Linked DNA regions of Homo sapiens: region 1 is linked to region 2. Evidence: promoter capture Hi-C in 16 types of primary human blood cells and fetal thymus (Javierre and others, 2016). All regions are on one chromosome and are shown on one strand. Each heading gives the region's core, a stretch centred on a gene start or on the middle of the fragment in contact. The rest is flanking DNA. Distances are from core to core; before and after follow the strand shown. Region 1 overlaps DNAAF9 (dynein axonemal assembly factor 9). Region 2 holds the start of GNRH2 (gonadotropin releasing hormone 2).

The links. Contacts are between HindIII fragments. The CHiCAGO score rates a contact against its expected background, and 5 or more counts as called.
Region 1: a contact is called between a fragment that was not itself captured here and the fragment with the promoter of GNRH2 in region 2, in 1 of 17 cell types (M2 macrophages). The highest score is 5.4, in M2 macrophages.

The regions. Positions count from the first base shown.
Region 1 is chr20:3,271,946-3,277,604 of GRCh38, forward strand. The region is part of intron 29 of DNAAF9 (dynein axonemal assembly factor 9); the gene reads right to left. Among named protein-coding and RNA genes, the nearest start is that of SLC4A11, 36 kb to the left of the region's middle. The HindIII fragment of the contact is 1,057 bases long and covers 2,039-3,095 here.
Region 2 is chr20:3,040,083-3,046,084 of GRCh38, forward strand. It overlaps GNRH2 (gonadotropin releasing hormone 2), which reads left to right and starts at 3,540. Exons shown (of 4, transcript NM_178331.2): 1 at 3,540-3,583; 2 at 4,326-4,486; 3 at 4,618-4,754; 4 at 5,604-5,665. The coding sequence starts at 4,333. The coding sequence ends at 5,654. It overlaps MRPS26 (mitochondrial ribosomal protein S26), which reads left to right and starts at 5,970. Exons shown (of 4, transcript NM_030811.4): 1 at 5,970-6,002. The coding sequence starts at 5,987. RefSeq lists an enhancer at 5,452-5,511 and a silencer at 5,612-6,002. The HindIII fragment of the contact is 14,485 bases long and covers 2,230-6,002 here.

The sequences.
Region 1 (5,659 bases), core at 1,317-3,816, 230 kb after region 2:
AAACATACACAACTAGAAAAATAGTAGAATGAACTCCCATCACCTGGTTTCAGGAACTACCAACACTCAGCTAATCGTATTTCATCTACACTCCACCCAGCTCATCCCCGGCTCCCCTACTGTATGATTTTGAAGTCAATCCCAGATACCCAATTATTTCAAACAAAAATACTTCAACGTGAATTTCCATAATATAAGGACTCTAAACATATTAACAATGAACTCCTTAATATAAAAAAATCCAGTCTGTGTTCAAATTTCTCTGTCTTATAAATGTTTTCTCAGTTAATAATTTTTGAATCAGGAACCAAAGGAAGTCTACATATTATATATATTTATATATTCAGTGGCTCACTGAAGCATTGACCTCCTGGGCTCAAGCAATCCTCCTGCCTCAGCCTCCTGTGTAGCTGGGACCACAGGTGTGCGTGCCACCATGCTTGGCTAATTTTTTTATTTTTTTTAGACACTGGGTCTCATTTTGTTGCCCAGACTGGTCTCAAACTCCTGGGCTCAAGTGATCCTCATGCCTTGGCCTCCTCTAAAGTGCTGGGATTACGGGCGTGAGCCACGGCACCCAGCTTCATTAGGATTTTCAGTTCCTCTAGTGGTCACTTTTATATCTTTAAAGAGTATACTTAACCCTTTATAACTTGATTTAATAGCTTTAAACTTTATCAATCTCCCATTCTGAAAGATGTAAAGAGTATCTCTCCTCTGCCAATTTTTTGTAAAATATAATTTCATAGATAGGCTTTCAACATTTATATTCTATTTTGTAATAGAATTCTCACAGGTGTTATAATTCTATACTTAAAAAAGATTCAATGCTCATCATCAACCCATTTACTAATAGAGAGTAGTTTAATTATTTTTTTATTATTATTATTTCTTGAGATGGAGTTTCGCTCTTGTTGCCCTGGCTGGAGTGCAATGGTGCAATCTCAGCTCACCACAACCTCCGCCTCCTGGGTTCAAGTGATTCCCCTGCCTCAGACTCCCGGCCTCCCGAGTAGCTGGGATTACAGGCATGCACCATCATGCCGGGCTAATTTTATATTTTTTAGCAGAGATGGAGTTTCTCCATGTTGGTCAGGCTGGTCTCGAACTCCTGACCTCAGGTGATCCACCCGCCTCGGCCTCCCAAAGTGCCGTGATTACAGACGTGAGCCATCGCGCCCGGTGAGAGTAGGTTTATAAATGAATAGTTCTTAAGTGAATATCTCTAAATTATGGAGATTTCTGCTTTCCTAAGTGACCTTGTAACTGCAGAATCCTAAGTAATGAATATTCAGTAATGAACACTCTATACTGATACTATTTACTTCAGTCAAGTGTTAAGTTAAAAAAATTAGCTGTATTCAGTTATTGAGGGCGAAACTCAGAACATATAGAAAGTGTGTCAGGCTGTTTTGGGGTTGCTGTAAAGAAATACCTGAGGCTGACTAATTTATAAAGAACCTTTAGCTTAATTGGCTAAAGGTTCTGCAGGCTTTCCAGGAAGCGTGGCGCTGGCATCGGCTTCTGGGGAGGCCTCAGGAAGCTTAAGATCATGGTAGAAGGCCTGGGAGCCAGCATATCACAGTGGTGAGGGCAGGAGCAAGAAGGGGCGGGGGAGGTGCCACACTCCTTTAAACAGCCAGGTCTCCTGTGAACTCAAGAGTAAGAACTCACTCACTATCACAAGGACAGCACCAAGCCATTCATGAGGGATCTGCCCCCATGACCCAAACACCTCCCACTAGGCCCCACTTTCAACACTGGGGATTATGTTTCAACATGAGATTTGGAGGGGACAAACATCTAATTTATATCAGAAGTGTTCACAAAGAAAATAAAATAATTCCTTTCCTGTCCAGACACCTAAATTCCCTGCCCTGGAGGCAACTGCAGTTATCAGATTCTTACCTCTTCTTCCAGAAGATCTGCTGAGTATATACAAAAGTGTTGAGTATAATTTTTTCCACAAGTAGTGACACATTACACTGTTCTGCACCTTTTCCCCCCACTTACTCCCTTTACTTTTTAATTTTGGTAAAGCTTACATCTTCCTTCAAATCTTTCTTAACATTTTATCATCCTAGTCCTCCCCTCATGCCACCCTGCTCTCTCCCCTTCTCTGAACTAAAAAAAAAGAAAAAAAGTTCTTTTGAATAACACAGGTGGCACTTAAAACACAGGACTTATATTCTTTATTTTTATTTTTATTTTTTTTGAGACAGAGTCTCACTGGGTCACCCAGGCTGCAGTGTAGTGGTGTGATCTCGGCTGGTTGCAACCTCCATGTCCCGGGTTCAAGTGATTCTCCTGCCTCATCCTCCTGAGTAGCTGGAATTACAGGCGCACACCACTGCACCCGTCTAATTTTTGTATTTTTAGTAGAGATGGGGTTTCACCATGTTGGCCAGGCTGGTCTTAAACTCCTGACCTCAGGTGATCCACCTGCCTTGGCCTCCCAAAGTGCTGGGAATGCAGGTGTGAGCCACTGCGCCTGGCCTGGACTTAGATTATTTATCTTCTTCCTCTATGGGAAAAGCTACCATAATGTAAAGACTAAGGCATTTAGAGCCAGGTGAACCTGAGTTTGAATTTTGAGTTCCGCTAATTACTAATGGGTGATACTAGACAAATTGCTCTACTTTCTCTCTGAAACCAAATATCCTCCTCTGTAAGATGGGAACCGTAACACATCACTCTAGGTTATCAATAAAACCTAGGCTTATCATAGGGCCTACAGAGAGTAAGAATCCATGAAATACAATCTATCATTTCCACCACTACCACCATCAGCACTGTCAATTGAGCATCAGCCTGAGAATTAGACTTCTCCCTGTACATAGAGGGGCCTGTCAGTGGCTGTGGCATTGGGTCTTGGCCATATCAACCACTGGGAAACTAAGTCATACAATTTCCACAAGCCAAGGCAGCTACACTCGTGGTTTAGATGGGGGGCAAGGAATAGTTTGAAGGCAGATTCCAGGACCCCTGGTCCCCTGCCTCTAGTCTTTGGTACCTGTGTTCGCATGGCCATTTGGAAAGGTCACTCTGCAGTGCACTCTGGAGGCTGCAGATGAGGCAGCAAAGCCAGCCTGGAAAGCTTGATGCCAGAATCCCATGCCCTGGTGCAGCCACAGAAAGTAGGGCCTCTGGAAACTGAGTAAGGCAAAGTCAGGAGGCCAAGTCCAAAATGTGGCACAGTGGGGAGGCAAGCAGGATCTCAGAAGCCTCAGCACATTCTAGAGATGGCAGACATGGAAGCCATATCCTACAAAGGGCCTGCCAGATTCCCAGGGTGGAAGGCAAGAAGAGCTCTGGCGGGTCTGGCAGTGAAGAGCCAGCAAAGGTTGAGGGAAGATCTATAAATACCCTAGGACTCTGTTTGGTATCTTCTTGGGCAAAAGAAACCAAAGTGTCAGACTAGTGCAAATGTGGCCATATGAACGGTGGTGCACCAGGGTCACAAGCACAGGCCTGGCCTGCCCAAGAAAAGGCTGGGATCTGGGTCTCTGACAGACACAACTTGTACAAAGTCCTGTCTGCTGCACATGTACCATATGGACAAAGCTTGTGGGGTTGGGATTCTAGGTCAGGAACTGGGCACAGAAAAGGGGCTTTGCTTTATAGGGAAACAAGCAAGAGGATTATCCCCAGCATTCCTTAGGCCAGCTATGTAAACTGCCACCTGCCAAGAGGAAATGCCATCTGTGAGGCAGGTACAGCAGTTATCTGGAGCACAGGGTGAACAGGCCATAGTGAGCGGTTCCACCTTGTTTGGGCCAGGAGCTTCCTTCTGTTCTGTATCAAGGAGTGGACAGCCAGATTTGGCCAAGGTCTCACCAGTCTGGGCTGTGAGCGAGCAGACAGCCTGGCGTATCCTATTCCCAAGAGCAGAGAAACATCCCTATTGTCTGGCTGACCATCCCAGTCTGGGCTAAAGTATTCCAGAAGCCCAGCAGAAAACAAAGGTGACTTCTTCTATCTACAGATGCTTTTAAAAGCAGGCCATGACAGTAAAGTATCTCCACTTTGCTCTCACACCAGCATTATAATGAGTCTTACTTGCTGTTTAAGCACTGAGATTATTTCTTAGTCCTTTGATTTCTATAATACACATTGTCTTGGGGCTGCAACATAGTCCTTTTCTAACTGGAAAATAATCTCTTATGAATCGGGTAGCCTGACTCATGAACAGGAGCAAAGGGAGGAAATATGCTCCCTTAGGACATGAAGTATTTGTCTACTGCTGGCAGATCCCACCTCCAAGCCAGCTACCAAATCTCCTAGGAGAAAAGAAATACTTGCCTTTTATCTCCTCCCTCCCCAGACAGCCCATGCCCATGGCAAGCCTGGTCAGGCCAGTCCACAGGGTCCCATGGGCCCAGAAGCAAGGCAGTGTCACTCCATGAGCCCCTTGGAGGAGTTCCGAAAACAGCATATGTGGCCTGAAGGTGATCAGCCCACATCTGATCACACCCCTAGCTCTACACAAGCACAGAGTTTAACACACATTGTCTTTGCACAATGAGTTGGAAGGCAGTATAAATGAAACATGCCTACCAAATGCCAGAGAGAACAGTCTGTTTTGGCCTCAAAGGGTTCAGACTAAAAGGGGCTTTTCTCTTGTGAGACAAGCCCAGGGCTGCCCCTGATTCAATGATGAAAACAGAACACTTCCCCAAGGCTCTCTGCCAGGGAAGCCCCACCATCTGTGCTTGTTCCTCATGCAAAAAAGAAGAGGGACACTGAGGGAGAATGCCAAGGAGCTGAGGTGCACTAGGGTGCCAATCATCACACGGTGGACAAGGGGCTCTGAAAGGAAAAGAAGGCTCCAGCATTTACAAGAACAAGGCAGGCCTGAGGCTGGACAGGTCAGCAAGTCCTAGGCACACCATCTGATAGTCAATACTGCCCCCTAGGCAAACACTTCCTCAACTTCACCTGCTTCCAACTAAAGCTCTTCTCAAGGACACTGCTTCTCTGAGTCAATCTTCACTTGGGCTCTGGACCCTACCCCTTCCTTCTCAGGGGTCCCCTCTATCAAACCTAGTATCTCCTTGCAGCCCACAGGCTTTCTCAGCAGCAAATAAGGAGGAACTGATCATTAAGAAATGACAATTCTTGGAAGTATTCTCTAGCCATCTTCCTTTTTACAGCCCCAAGCACTCTAGAATATCATCTGCACCTGCTGGCTTCCAGTATCTCACTTGACCACTGGCCCACTTGGAGCTGGCTTCAGCCCTCACCTCTCCACTCAGATCCTCCTACTCAGGTCATCAGGGTCCTTCTCACTTACAGAGCCAGTGGGCTTTTCTCTGTTCTTCCCTCAAGGTCTCTGCAGCATTAGACATCGTGGATCTCTTTTTCTCCTTCCTCAATGTCTCAGGCAACACTCTTCCCTGCTTCTCTTTCGGTGTCCTGGAACCTCCACCCTCACCCCATCTCTAGCCTTCTGATCTTTTCAACTCTATATCTGGATACTGGCTGACTACAGTCCATGCCATTAACTTTGACCATGACTTCCAAATACGTATCTTAGGATGAGACAGCCCTCCTTGGTTATCTCCTGGACCTATGTTTTCTCCTGTGCTTTCTATTTGAAGGACAGGTACCACCAACCTTCCTAATCTCCTAAGCTAGAAACCTAGGAGTCATCCTAGAT
Region 2 (6,002 bases), core at 2,290-4,789:
AAAACTCAGCAGTCTCGATAAGTATGGATAAATTAGGCAAAGACAGATTCTGAGGAATTTCTGGTGAGGGGTGCCAAGTTTGGGGAGCAGCCCCTGGCTCCTTGCAAGCTACCCTTCAGTGCTCTGTGTGACCAAGTCCAAGTCGATGCAGGAGGGCAGGCACTGGGTCAGCAAGCCACTCAGTGAATGTGCAGGTGAGGCCGTTCATAGGCGCTTGTGTGCCTCCCAGCAGGCTGCCTGCCATTGCCAGGGCTGGCCTTCAGCAGGGTGCGCCACCATGGCCTGAGTGGTTTTCTGCTGAAGTCCGTGCTGATTTGGCCAGTGGATAGGCATCACCTGGGTGCAAAACCATTGTCTCCAGGTAGGAATGACCTCAGCTGTTTGCTCCGTGTCTCGCTCAGCCTGTAGATGTGTCCCTCATCCCTTCATGCCTCCCTCTTCACTCCTCTTTTACTTTCTACTCGGGGCTTGCATGTTTACAAGAGAGGTGAACCCAACAGAAACTAGTATAGGCCAAAAGGAAAATGTGCTGAAGCTCACACAGCACAGTCGTGTGGAAAAGGCAGCAGTGACTGCTTCATCCAGTGCCCTTCCCACAGCCAGTCAGTTGCGACCCAAGGGGCTTAGGGTAGGAGTGTTTCTCCATAGGGGAAGAGTAACAGCCTGCACCCACCACACACCCAAAGCCCTACATCCTGCCACACTGAGACCTCACTTCATTTGGGCGGGTCCCTCCTGGGTTGCAGTTTCCTTCATTGCTCCCCTGTCCCAAATACTCAAGTCTCTCTCATTAAAAATAAAGAGCAGGCCAGGTGCAGTGGCTCACACCTGTAATCCCACACTTTGGGAGGCCAAGGCGGGTGGATCACTTGAGCCCAGGATTCGAGACCAACCTGGGCAACATGACAAGATCCTGTCTCTACAAAAAATAACAAAAATCATCTGGGCATGGAGGCACACGCCTGTAGTCCCAGCTACTTGGGAGGCTGAGGTGGAAGGATCACCTGAGCCCATGAGGTGGAGGCTACAGTGAGCTGTGATCATGCCACTGCACTCCAGCCTGGGTCAAAGAGTGAGACCCTGTCTCAAAAAAAAAAAAAAATAGGCCGGGCACAGTGGCTAATGCCTATAATCCCAGCACTTTGGGAGGCCAAGGCGGACGGATCACCTGAGGTCAGGAGTTCGAGACCAGCCTGGCCAACATGGTGAAACCATCTCTACTAAAAATACAAAAATTAGCCGGGCGTGGTGGCACGTGCCTGTAATCCCAGCTACCGGGGAGGCTGAGGCAAGAGAATTGCTGGAACCTGGGAGGCAGAAACTGCAGTGAGCTGAGATCACGCCACTGCACTCCAGCCTGGATGACAGCGAGACTCCATCTCAAAAAAAAAAAAAGAAAAAGAAAAAGAATTAATTAATTAATTAAATAAAGAGCATGTCTCCCACCCCAGGCCTAAGTTCTTCCCTCTATGAGAGACTACTTGCAGAAACCTGTGTTCTCACTCTTCCCCCTTCCTCACTTCATTCCCACACATTTCTTTTCCATCCCTGCGCACCAAGGTCACCTTGGTGCTAAACACCAGGGACCCATGGTCTCTTCCCCTTTGTGTCACAGGCTGTCCTCTGCCTCTTATCCTCACCCTTTAGCTGCTCCTCCACTGTCTCCTCTCTCAGAGGTCAGGATTCTGGATCTGTCTCTGTGGACCCTCAGCTCTCCTCCAATCCCAAGTCCCCCGCATCCTGGTCGCATGTCAGGGTGGTCCAGAGATGCCTGCCTCCCACTGCCCACACCCAGGGGCCCGCCCTCCTTTCCTCTAACCTTCCCACATACTCTGGCCCCATGGATCCACGGCAGTTCCTGCTGGCCCTTCTCCATTTTGTTCCTTATGCTGCACCCCTCTGCTGCCACTCCCTGCGTCCGTGACTCCAGCTCACTCGTCTCTGTCCTTCACCCAGGCCGCCTGCTCAGGGTTTGTGCCTCTCTGTGCTCCTGCAGCACCTGAGTGTTTATTCACCTCTGAACCTCTGCTTTCCCACCTGAGTACACGCAGCTCCTGGCTGCAGTGACTTCATATCCTGAGGACTGGAGCTCCGTGGTGAACAGATGGCTTTCTATGTTCTAATGAGAGGGATACAAGAGTTCCACAGTTCTAGTCTGGAAAGGACCAAACATTTCTTAAAAGCTAAGTATGTTGCCGGAAAAAAAAGGGAGCAGAGCTTTCCCCAGGAAGCTTGGCTCTGGTTTAGATTTTTCAGGAAAAGCCGGAATCAAATTACAGAATAAATAAAGGCAACCATCCCCCTTTTAAAGGTACACCAGCCTTGGTGCATCTTTGAAGAAAGCATTCTGTAAACCCCAACCAGAACTAAACTAGTACGTCGAACTCAGATTCATTTTCACTAAACCACAAGCAAATGTTTCCCTAAAAATCACCCAGTTAACAAAGTCCGCATATTTAAGCCAAAACAATTTAACTGAACAAATGGGCCACACGTTGATTTCCGGTCCCTGCTAATAAGTCAGTCTGGAAGTTCACAGGTGTGCCCATCCTGCCTTGGCTGCTGAAGTCCAGGTGTCTAGGGCTGACTGATGCCCATTATGCCTCCCCTCCCCCATCTTTGTCACAGGATTTGACGCACCAGCTCTCCAAATGACCCTGGCCCTCCCATTTGCTGTTCAGCCCAAGTGCGGAGATTGGCTATGAACCCTGTAAACAGGCCTCTGACCCCCAGAGGCTGATGGCTGGCCAAGGAAAGCTGAGCTGCTGACGCAGACTGGGAAGCAAGAGCCCACTTCCAGCAGCCCAGGCTAGCTGTGTCCAAATCCATGACTGGGGAGGGGTTAGAGCCTTGAGGGACAAAATTATTCTACCTACCTAGGGAGACTGCACTGGCCCAACAGCTGGGCCCCATCTCATGGGCCCGCTTCTTCGCCAGGAGAGAAGCCACTCCGGGGTAGGTACTGCCCCACCCAAACCCAGCCATCTGGAGTGACCCAGCCCTGGTTCCCAGGTGTGTGGATGTGAATTGTCCCACCCAACCCACTCTACAGTGAGCAAACGGAAGCCCTCTGGGAGAGTGGTCACAGCCTCCCCTGTACCTCTGAACAGCCTGCCAGGCTCCCTACTCTTAGGCTTCCACTGTCCACCAGGGAAAGCCCTGAGCTGGGAGTTGGGGAGCCCCCAGGCATTGCCCCTGCCCAGGACACAATTCTCTTTTGGGATCAGGGAAGGCTGTGAGGGCTTTCTAGGTCTCAAGATCAGGAGCTTGAAGATGCAGCCTGGGAAGTGGGAAGGTGAGACCAGGACATAGGCCAGCCTAAAGCAAGAGTCCTGGGCCTGAAGGCTCCTGGGAAGGTGGTGGGGAGGGAGCATGTGTCGGTGGCCTCAGGGCAGCAGCTGCCTGGTGAATGTTCATGGACTGGATGCTCTGGGAAGCGGGTTGGGTGGTGAGCTTCTCTCTTCCCCTCTGAAGACGTCACTGGAGTCTGGGGGTGGAGCTGCCTGGTCTATAAATCCTGGGGCCATCAGGCTAGGGTCCTGCAGCTGCCTGAAGGAGCCATCTCATCCACAGCTCTTCCTTGGTGAGTGGGGAGCCTTCCCTAAGGGCTAGGACACCTGGACCAAGTTTCATCCTGGGCGTATGGTGTGCTGCTCCTCTTCCCCATTCCCAGGTGCCTCCACCCCTGAACCATGCCAGAGAAGTCCCCTTTTCCTCTCCTCTCCCCAACAGCTCTACCATCTATTCTTGTGCTTGTTGCCCCTGGCATGGGAGGGATAAGGGGTAGAAGCACTTGCCCCCATCAATACCACTCATCCATTCCACATCCCCAACTACTATGGAAGAGATACAGCAGGCCACGGAGAAAAGGGCAGAAGGCCTGCAACTCTGGTTCCCTAGCACTGGTGCTCCAAACACGCCTACATTGAGAACTCCCCTGACCATCCATCTATCCTCCCATCCATTGGCCTGAATTCAGGTCTCTGTTCCCCTCCAACTTTCTTCCACTTCTGGAAACTCCTTGAAGGAAAGATGGATGGACCTGGACAAGTGGGAGGGCCCTCAGAGCTGGCAAGGCAGGTAGCCTCTGTGCCCCAGGCTCAGGGAGAAGGCTCGTCCCCTGGAGCATCATCCCCTGCTGGGCCAGGATCCCCCAGGATCTGGACCCCTGTATGCTTGGGATGAGGAGCGGTGGCAGAGAGGGAAGGGCATAAGGAGATACCAAAGCTGCCCCTGAGATGCCAGTTTTCCAAAGTGGCCCTGGAGGAAGTAGGGGGATGTGGGGGTGAGGTAAGTCTCCTTGAATGCTGTACCCTGTCCATTAGAGCAGCCATGGCCAGCTCCAGGCGAGGCCTCCTGCTCCTGCTGCTGCTGACTGCCCACCTTGGACCCTCAGAGGCTCAGCACTGGTCCCATGGCTGGTACCCTGGAGGAAAGCGAGCCCTCAGCTCAGCCCAGGATCCCCAGAATGCCCTTAGGCCCCCAGGTGGGTGTCTCCCAGCCTCATGGGGAGGAAGAAAGTGATGGCCGGGGGCTCCCCCACCCTCCTGGAGCCTGAGGTCGGGGTAGGGAGGACAGCATCAGTTCCCTTCTAAGGAAGGGCCCTGGACACTGCAGCAGGCAGCCCAGTCCAGACTGCCCATGGCCTCCCAAGTGATGCCCTGGCTCCCCTGGACGACAGCATGCCCTGGGAGGGCAGGACCACGGCCCAGTGGTCCCTTCACAGGAAGCGACACCTGGCACGGACACTGCTGGTGAGTAGGGTGAGAGGTCCCCAGCATCAAGACCAGCCACTGGTCATCAGAGGCCATTGTGGCTTAGGGTTGGGTGCTGGGAGGGTGGGGAGAATGAAACACCACTGAGATGCCCCCTGCCACAGCACCCCCAGCCATTTCTCAGTGCCCCTACTGCACACAGCAGGGTGCTGTCTGCTATCCTTCCTATTTCCCAGGAGGATTCTAGACAATTTACAAAGCACTTGGGTTAAAGACCAAAGTCACTAGTAGACTAGAAGGAGATAATTGTTCTATAAGACAGTGGTGGCCATGGGATCCCACAGGCATCCTGACAAGCCAATGACTGTCTTGAGGTGGACAGACCCCAGGCCAGTGGAAAGAGGTGAGGGATGCAACCTCACTCAAACAGACAACAGGGCCAAGAGGACCAGGTGGTGACTGACATGTGCACTAGGAACATCTCAGGGACTGCAGAGCTCCCCAAGACCATAGCAGAAGACAGGCGTGGGGAAATGGTTTGCTACTGTTTTGCAAATCAAACATTTACAGTGCATCAGGAGAGCCCGGTAACTAAAGAAGAAAGTGGTTAGTTCCTATGAGGCAATGTCTTACCGCCTGATTTGTGTGTATGTGCTGAGGTTTCTATGCGTCAGGCTTGTTTAGGGTGGACAAGAGGGCATGCCCAAGGGAGCTGGAGATCCCCACACTAGCTGGATCCTCAGGCTTCTACGGGAGGCGGGGGGCGTCCTGCTGTGGGAGGCCACATGGGGACTGGGGGGGACGAGAGGGGAGAGAACCAGGAAGATGGCAGCTCGGCGGTTACGAGACCAGTGTCCTGAGACATGACCGCCACCTCTCCCTCCGCAGACCGCAGCCCGAGAGCCCCGCCCCGCCCCGCCATCCTCCAATAAAGTGTGAGGTTCTCCGAAGCTGTTGCGTCGAGTTCTGTCCTTCGTCCCCTCCCTGTCTTCCCCGCTGAGACCCTTCCCTGCGTGGGGGCTGGAGGGACGCGGGTCCGGCCCCGCGGGCGGGAGTAACTAAGGGATGGCCCCGGGCCCTGGCGGGAAGGCCGGGCCAGAGCCTGGGGGCGGGATGCGGACGTCCGCAGGGTCGCCGCTTCGGTTCCAGAGGCCACACGGCCGGGCGGGGCGTGAGGGACAGCCCGAGGACTACAGGTCCCAAGGTTCCCCGCGCCGCTTCCGGGGCACGGTGGCGTCCCGGCACCGCGGCCGCAGTGAGGAGACTCGGCCATGCTACGCGCGCTGA